Linked DNA regions of Homo sapiens: regions 1 and 3 are each linked to region 2. The links are contacts of gene promoters, found by promoter capture Hi-C in blood cells and fetal thymus (Javierre and others, 2016). All regions are on one chromosome and are shown on one strand. Each heading gives the region's core, a stretch centred on a gene start or on the middle of the fragment in contact. The rest is flanking DNA. Distances are from core to core; before and after follow the strand shown.

Region 1 (3,135 bases), core at 14-2,513, 1.6 Mb after region 2:
ATAAAATTTGGATTTTAATAGCCTTGCCTTATACTGGAGACAGGCCAAGCTGTGGATAATCACCAGTATTTGTCAAACAATTATTTATTGAGTACCTACTATGTGCCAGACACTATTCTAAGTCCTGGCAATATAGCAGTGCCAAGACAAAAGTCCTTGTGCTTGAGGAGCTTAAAATTATAGAGGAGTGGACACAAACGAAAACATGTCAAATAGTTATAAGTGCTATAAATAAAAATATAGCAAGTTACAAGGGCTAGTGATTGATGAGGAGAGGGGAATATGCTGTTTTATTTTGGGTGGTCAATAAAGGCCTCTGTGCATAGGCAATATTTGAGCAGACACCTGAAAAAAGTGAGACCTGGAGTGGTGAAGATATATGGGGAAGAGCACTTTAAGCGGAGCATTTCAGCAAGGAGCATAGTACAGAGAGCTGGGGGTGGGGATAGGGGTAGGGGAAGGAGCTGTGGACATAAGTTTTACAGGTAGCAAAGATAAAGGGCTTTGGTTTTTATTCGGAAGGGTTTTAGGCACAGAAATGACATAATCTGACTATGTTTTAAAAGGAGCACTAGATTGTAAGGAAACAAGGAAGAAGCAAAGAGATTGGATGTAATAACTCAACAGTAGTTCTCATTTCATAGTATTTCATTCTGAGATTGACCTACCCTGTATGTTTCTGGGGAATGCTAATACTAATCAAAGCACTTTCATTTCAAACATTAAGGTATTTTGGTTTCTACATTTCTAAAATTTATATACAAACATAATACCATCACTTATAGTGATAATTTATAGCACTGGACTAGTGTATAGTCCAATACACTAAATGTAGTGACAAAAATTAATTCATAAAGATAAAATACAAACACCAATGAGACACATGGTATTAACAACTAATTTTAATTATACTAAGTATGTAGTATCCCAGCATGTGAAAGTTTTTTTTTCCCCACTATTACCAAAATAATTTATATGGTTTGTACTGCTTAGGTCACTTTGGAAACCTGGGGTACTTGTTAAAAATGTAGTTTTCTGGGTTCTTTGTAGTATCAGAATCTCCAGGCGTTTGTGGACTGGAAATTTACATTTTAAACAAGCTTCCACATGGTTCTTACACATACATGTTTGTATCAGTGACTCTCACTGTAAAGGAAGAGTATTTTAGTGACTTGACTATTTTAAAGCTAGGTTCCACTATTTGAATACTAAGTAAAAACAAGGAAGATCATATCTTATTACTTTATCTCAAATCCATTTTTGAAGAGGGATTTGAATAAAAGAAAATTAAAGTTTTATTGCTCTGCCATAATTCTAAGAAAAACTGAGCTAAACTATAATAAAAATTGCAGAAGGATATGCTTTGTTAATTAGGTGACAATAAAAAAGCATTAGAATGAGACCTTTACACTGAGAATGACCTCAGAAAGCTTTTGGAACAATTTTTATTTTTTTATTATTATTATACTTTTAAGTTTTAGGGTACATGTGTACAACGTGCAGGTTTGTTACATATGTATACATGTGCCATGTTGGTGTGCTGCACTCATTAACTTGTCATTTAACATTAGGTATATCTCCTAATGCTATCCCTCCCCCCTCCCCCCACCCCACAACAGGCCCCAAAGTGTGATGTTCCCCTTCCTGTGTCCATGTGTTCTCATTGTTCAATTCCCACCTATGAGTGAGAACATGCGGTGTTTGGTTTTTTGTCCTTGTGATAGTTTGCTGAGAATGATGGTTTCCAGCTTCATCCATATCCCTACAAAGGACATGAACTCATCATTTTTTATGGCTGCATAGTATTCCATGGTGTATATGTGCCACATTTTCTTAATCCAGTCTATCACTGCTGGACATTTGGGTTGGTTCCAAGTCTTTGCTATTGTGAATAGTGCCGCAATAAGCATACGTGTGCATGTGTCTTTGTAGCAGCATGATTTATAATCCTTTGGGTATATACCCAGTAATGGGATGGCTGGGTCAAATGGTATTTCTAGTTCTAGATCCCTGAGGAATCACCACACTGACTTCCACAATGGCTGAACTAGTTTACAGTCTCGCCAACAGTGTAAAAGTGTGGAACAACTTTCTTAGTTTACAGATGAGGAAGTTGAGATGCAAAGTTAAATAGTCAAAAGGTAGCACAGTTGATTATGGATTCCTCATGACTCTTGTTTCAGAAATATTTCTATTAGTTTATCCTATTTTTTATTTCCCATGGAATTAGGTGATTATTTGGGAAAATCTTACAGTGAGGATCTTTCTAAAAATTCTGAACCTAAACCAGTGTATTCAATATTATACTTATTTTTTTAAAATTAAGAGGTTATTTTGTTTTATATTAAGATATTTTGGCTACTTACAGAAAGCTGAAATATTTGTAGTACATTGTAGTACCTTGGGTATTATTATTCAGAATTATTTGTTCCCAAAACCTTTGGATGTGACTTACAATAGTTCCCTATAGGAAGAGTAGCTTTGCTGACCAATGACTGGGTTTAGCCACATGACTTGCTTGGTCAACACAATGCAAACAGACTTGATGAGCTTTTCAATGCATTTCCCAGTGCTGCCAGTTCTCTTGCTTTAGTGCCCTCTGCCACTACAAGGGCATAGCCCAGGTAGGACCTTCTCTTTCAGCCCAGGGCCTGAATAGAGTAAACCTGAACCTGAATCACATCCTGAAGTGCAGCCAGAGCAATTAACCCACAGTAGCCAACAAGCCACACAATGAAAAATATATGTTGTTGAAAGCTACTGAAACAGTTGAGGTAGTTTGTTACCCATTGTACTCTAATAAAAGCTAATACATATATGCTCCCAAATCTGGATTAAAAGTCTGGTACCTGAAACAGAAAGATTATCAAAAGTAAAAATTCTGAGGTTTTTCTGACCAAGAATCTTTGTTATAAAAATGGGTAAATATCTTATTAATGTGCCTGCAAATACATTAGTGATAGAATGTTTTTATACAGTTTAGAACTTGGTATATGATAGGTACATATTTGAATTATGGTCATTTTTGTTTGGAAAATAGGTGTAATGAATCTACATGACAATTTCATAATGTAAAATTGCACCAACATGCACAAAGGAAATGCCACAATTTATCTGGGGATATAATTTTCAAAG
Region 2 (3,120 bases), core at 181-2,680:
CAACAAAAATAGTTTCCTCACTGAAACTGCCTCAGCAGGTATTACCAAAATATTTCAAGAACAGTTTTACTGTAATATATATGTACCTGCCCAAGGCAAAATAAGTCTATACACTTCTATATGTGCAGGTAGGATTAGAAGGAACAGGGGCAATAAAAAATGTTTGTCTCTCTTAAATATTACTGGAAAGCTCTAGAATATTATCACACTCTTTAGAAGGAAATACTACTGCAAAAGGCTCAGATAGTTAGGAATTCATTTTAAGTAGAAGAAAAATTAGTGCCCAGCTCCCTACAGTAAGGGAACATCAGTTACCAAGGAAGTTTTCCCTAATACCCCAAATACTTTAGATATGCCCTTACCAAGAAGCCAGCAGAACTGATAATCATTTGTACCCTTATGATATACTAAGCTGATTTATAAAACACGACTTGGTGAACACCAAAGTTTAATGGGCTGAAATAACTAACATTCCTAAAAAACTGGTGAATAATCAGATGAGGGAAAATGTCTCTGAGTTTTACCTACCGCTTAAGGGCTCCGCTGCAGAGGTAGGATTCTCCAGAAAAATGTTTTCCTCCTCCTCTGTTGTCAACAGCACAAGAAAAGTAAGGAGGTTTGCACCATTCCGTCCCCAGCTCCAGCTCTAAGCTGTCAGTCAGGAACGTCGATGCAGCAGAACAGTTCTCCATTGTTTACTTCATGTTCTGAAACACTTGGGGTTCGTCGTATCATTAAGGGCTCCAAAGAGAAGGTGTGAAGAGATTCCTGTTGGGGGGGGGGGGGTGGGGCCGAGAGAGTGGGGATTACTTCAGAAAGTTCTCAAGACGTCCGCCAGCAGGAAGGAAAAACAAACGAACAAACCCAGAGGCCAAATTCCCAATTCCCCCTCGCCCTCCGTCCATCAAGGCTGTCAGAACTTAAGACAAAATGCACAACCAACTGGCTGTGGCAGGGACCTCGAAATCCGGCCACTAAGTCGGGCTCTGCAGCCCAGGACAAGGTGAAAAGCAAAGAAATGTCTGCAGGACATAGCGTCCCGGGCTTGCCTAGAACTGCGCCCTCCGCAACGTTTCTAAACCACTCTCCGCCCGTTTCCCAGCAGCAGGGTGGAGAACGCTCCCTCCCCGGCTCGGGGTGGAAATTAGGAAAGCAACCCCTAGGGCCAACCCCGACCCTCCAAGGAGGAGGCGAGACCCACCAGGCCCACGCCTGGCAGCACTCGGGCGGAGAAGGCGGGGTGCCGGTATCCCGCGTACCCGGCTGCAGCAAGGACCCGGGGCGTCGGTTACCCGCGGTGCCTGTCGTACCCGCTCACATTTCCAGCTCCCGAAACCTGCCTCCTGTGACCCAGACCACCAACAGGAATCTTTGGGGTCTAAACCGCAAACAGGCGAAATTCCCGCCACCGCGCGCCCGCGCTCCGGAAAGGCGGGGCCACGGCGCAGCCCTCCCCCGGCTACCAATCGCCTCGCGATATCTGCGCGGAAACAGTCGGAGCCCCACGAATTCTCGCGAGAGTCCGTCAGTCCGGGACGAGGTACTGAGAAACTTTTTTTTTTGTACCTTTAATTGGTGCGTTCGGCTGAAAGGCGGGGCCTGGTAAAAAAAAAAAAACAGAACTGCTGCTGAGGCGGAGGAGAGGACTTAAGGACTATGGGTTTATCCTCTGGCCGGACCAAAGAGAAGATATTTACTCCAGTGAGTGCGAAGTGAGTGCCTCGTTCACACCCACAGTCGCGCCGTCCCCTCTTCCCGCTCTGGGGCCAGCAACTCTTGTTAGAATGCAGATGCCTTTTGTCCATGGACTGTGAGGCAGGCAAGTGCAACAATTAATTTTCTCTGTAACAGATGGAACAAGTAGACAGAAAATTAGTATGGATATGGAAAACTTGGAAAGCACTAACCAACTTGACCTAATTGACGTTTATAGGTGACCAACCCAACAATAGCAGAATACACACTCCTGTCAAGTGCACATGAAACATTCACTAAGCGATACCATATTCCGAGCCATAAAACAAATGTCATCAACTTTAAAAAGATTTAAATCGTACAAAGTGTATAGTCTGATCATAATGGCATTAAACTAGAAATAAAGTAGATACTTGAAATACTCTAAATATTTGGAAATTAAGAATCATACTTCTAACTAACCTGTGAATCAGGAAAAATCACAGGAAAATTAGAAAATACGTTGAATTAAATTAAAATGAAAACACTAAAATTTGTAACAGTACCTGCTTACATTAAAAAGAAGAACTCAATTCAATAAACTTTTGTCTTAAGTAACTAGAAAAAACCCCCAGCATATTGAAACCAAAGCAAGCAAAATGAATGAAATGATAAATAGTAGAAATAAATGGGATGAAATAAATGGAAGGAAATACATGCAAAAGTTGTTTTTCTAAAAGAGCAATATAATTGATAACCCCCCTACCCAAACTGATAAAGAAAATAAACAAATTATCAGTATCAGGAATTAAAAAGGTTTCATCACTATGAAATTTAGTCATTAAAAGGACAAGGATATTAAAAGAACATTATGAACATTTTTATGCCAATAAGCATAGGTGAAATGGACAAATTCCTTAAAAGACGCAAACTGTCAAAAATCAACAAAAGAAGAAAATTTGAGTATCTCTGTATTTATCGTAGTACTCAGAATCTTTGGTTAAGCCTCCCTCCTCTCTCTCTGCACACACACACACACACACACACACACACACACACACACACCACTTCTTACAAGAAAACTTCAGGCCAGGGCAGGCACAGTGGCTTTGGGAGGCTGAAGTAGGTGGATCCCTTGAGACCAGGAGTTCCAGACCAGCCTGGGCAACATGGTGAAACCCTGTCCCTTGTCTCCACAAAAAAAATACAAATATTAGCCAGGCGTGGTGGTGCTCATCTGTAGTCCCAACTACTTAGGGAGGCTGAGGTGAGAGGATCACTTGAGCTGGAGAGTTCGAGGCTGCAGTGAACTGTGAGTGTGCCATTGTACTCCAGCCTGGACAACAGAGCAACACCATTTCTCAAAAGCAACAAAACAAACAAACACTCTCCAGGCCAAATGGCCTTACTATTAAATTCTCCCAAACATTTAAGGAAGGAGTAATA
Region 3 (2,957 bases), core at 176-2,675, 1.6 Mb after region 2:
TTTTTGAACAGATGCATAAACTTTTATGAAATAATGGTGATGACAGGTAACATTGGCATTTTGTTTGTCTTTTTACTGTATGTTAATTTAGCAAAGTAAATAATCTGACAAGTCTATGAGTTCCCTAATTTTTATGATGATTATTATGTTACTAGTTTATTGTGACTGACTCCTCCCACCTGAACTCCATTCACATGCACATCCCCCATCTCATCAGTTCTATGTGCCACCCTGCAGATGGGCTTGCTTTGCTCCTAAGGGTTTACACTTACAACCTTCTTCACAGAACTACCTTGGGCTTCATCTAGGGAGTGACATGTGCCTAGAAGATTGACAGTCCCCCTTTCCCACCCTTCCAGCCCATGGTAAAAGTCTGGCTGGTGCAGGAGTATAAGGGCCCAGCTCTCTAGCAACTTTGCCTCCCAGCAGACTGGGACTTCACATGATATTGCATCCTTGCTTGATTTTTCCCATCATGCTTTCCCTACTCCTTTACTAGCTTCTCCTAGAGTATCTTCATAAAAAAATTTCCACAAAAATTTCCATAAAAATTGCACAGGAATAGTCACCTCAAGATATTCTTCTGGGAAGCTGGATCCAAAAAAATCTATAAAATCCCAAAGTCTAGAAACCCCTAGTTTAGATCTTAAGAATGTTACTCCCATGTCTCCAGTTGCCAACAGCTTATTCTCTGCATTCTTGGACTTTTCTCACTTCTTCAAACACCATGATCTTAGCTCATGATCTCACGTTCAAATGTGCTGTTGTCTCTCCTCCTTTCCTATCCACACTGGAGCCTCACTCAACCCTCAGGTCCCAGGTAAGTCACTTCCCCAGGGAAGCCTTCTCTGAGCCCACAGATTAGGTTCTCCCCTCTGCCAATACATGTTCCTCATGGTCCTCTTCTAGGCTGGCCTGTAAGCTCAAAAAAGAGCCATCTCTGTCTGACTCTCTACTTGGTTCCTAGCAGTGAACTGGCAGAGAGGGTGTTCAATAAATGTTTCTGATTGTATAAAAAATTCACCCAAATGTTAACAGTTACTGAATCTGGGCAGAAGAATTACAGATTTTTTTCATATATATTTTCCTTTTTTTTTGGTATTTTCTAGATTATTTTTAAACAATGAAACATCTATTGATTTCATAATCAGTAAAATTTAAAAAGGCTTTTTCTTATATCTTAATAATATATTGGTCACCTTTTTTTCTCTTAAAATGTAATGGTATTTTCAGTAGACTAAAGCTGAAAATCAGTAAAGAAAATTAGAGATACAGGTATAAATAAAGTTTTAACTTTAATCACAACCATATACCAGTAACTCTCAGTAACCCAAGAGCATGATTTGTACTTAAAATTAGTTATGCAGCTGTTAAGTTTTAGACTGGAGAAAACACATTACATGTTCCATTGATCTCCTCCCTAAATCTTTTCAGATTTTTGGAAAAAAGTAGGTAACTTTGTAAGAAGAATGTCAGAGTCCTAATAAAACAATTCTCATATAAGAAAAGATCCTGCCATGCACAGTGGCTCCCATCTGTAATTCCAGCACTTTGGGAGGCCGAGGCAGGCGGATCACCTGAGGTCAAGAGTTCGAGACCAGCCTGCCCAACCTGGTGAAACCCCATCTCTATTAAAAATACAAAAATTAGCCAGGCATGGTGGCACGCACCTGTAATCCCAGCCGCTCAGGTGGCTGAGGCAGGAGAATCTCATTAACCCGAGAGGCAGAGGTTGCAGTGAGCCAAGATCGTGCCACTACACTCCAGCCTGGGCGACAGAGTGAGACCCTGTCTCAAAACAAAACAAAAGATCCTACTCCATTTTTTCCTCTTAGGGAGAAAACAAAAATCTGATTTTAATTAAGGTATGCTGGCTTTCTGAGTTTAAAAAACGACTAATAACATTATTTGCAATGAATTATTAGGTAGTTCTGGAAAAAAAAGTAAAGATTATACCAGCAATCTCCAAGTTGAGCTGTACTCTGTATGTTTTCTGGCAGGCCCTGGAAGTATTCCCTTAGAGATGAGGGGACAGAGATATCAGAGGAGCTGCATGTTACGGAGGTAGCAGCTGACCTCTGCCCGCCTCCTCCTGCACTGGCAGCTGGCCATCCCTACAGTTGAACAGGTGCCCTGATCTGCTCTCAGGCTAGAATGAGAGCGGGAATTTTTATTTATTTTGTTCACTGCTCGCTGACACATCTCTAATACCTAGAACAACACCTAGCACATTAGGTAGGCACTAAAATATTTAATGAACGAGTGATTTAATAAAGTGATATGAAGTCCTAGAAACTGCTAAGATCCATGAGTAATAGAAAAAATGAGCAAATAATATGATCAGATAGTTAAAGGAAAAAGAAATATAAATGGCTTTTAAACATATGAAAAGATTTCAACCTCAGAGATAATAAAAGAATTTTAACAGTTAACATGAGATAACATTTTTCACCTATTAAATTGCAAAAATATTGAAATTTATAAACATACTCTGTAGGCGAGGCTTTGGCAAAACACCCATGTACATGCCCTGCTAGTGGGAATATAAATAGTACAGACTCTTTGGAGAGAAATTTGGCATTACATATGAAAATTACAACTGTTAAAAATTAAAATTAAATGTAACTAAGAATAAATTGTTAAAATGCAAAAAAAAAATGTTAAACATTACAAAATTATCAAATTATCCTTGGTTGAGTAGCCTTCTTCTAGGAAATTTATCCCACAGATATACTTGCACACATGCAAAGTGACTTATGATAAGGTCATTCCCTGCATTAATGTTTATAAGAGCAAAAGACTAGAAACAACTAAGTGCCCATCAATGGGGGACTAGTTAATAAGTTGGGGTTCATACACACTATGCATTACTTGCAAATGCAGGAAAGAATGAGGAAGCTCTCTTTGTACTTACAAGAAAAGATCCAACATATACTACTGTGTGAAACAAGGTACAG

Evidence for each region. The method cuts DNA at HindIII sites, captures the fragments that hold promoters and counts their contacts. A CHiCAGO score of 5 or more calls a contact.
Region 1: a contact is called between a fragment that was not itself captured here and the fragment with the promoter of MMS22L in region 2, in 1 of 17 cell types (total B cells). The highest score is 5.9, in total B cells.
Region 3: a contact is called between a fragment that was not itself captured here and the fragment with the promoter of MMS22L in region 2, in 4 of 17 cell types (M0 macrophages, naive CD8 T cells, total CD4 T cells and 1 more). The highest score is 8.5, in M0 macrophages.

The regions. Positions count from the first base shown.
Region 1 is chr6:98,860,782-98,863,916 of GRCh38, forward strand. No RefSeq gene overlaps it. Among named protein-coding and RNA genes, the nearest start is that of POU3F2, 28 kb to the left of the region's middle. The HindIII fragment of the contact is 330 bases long and covers 1,099-1,428 here.
Region 2 is chr6:97,281,786-97,284,905 of GRCh38, forward strand. It overlaps MMS22L (MMS22 like, DNA repair protein), which reads right to left and starts at 1,431. Exons shown (of 25, transcript NM_001350599.2): 1 at 1,311-1,431; 2 at 529-768. The coding sequence starts at 692. RefSeq lists enhancers at 1,008-1,267, 1,648-1,707. The HindIII fragment of the contact is 13,882 bases long and covers 1-3,120 here.
Region 3 is chr6:98,922,762-98,925,718 of GRCh38, forward strand. All of the region lies in intron 4 of FBXL4 (F-box and leucine rich repeat protein 4), which reads right to left. Among named protein-coding and RNA genes, the nearest start is that of FBXL4, 24 kb to the right of the region's middle. The HindIII fragment of the contact is 5,637 bases long and covers 1-2,957 here.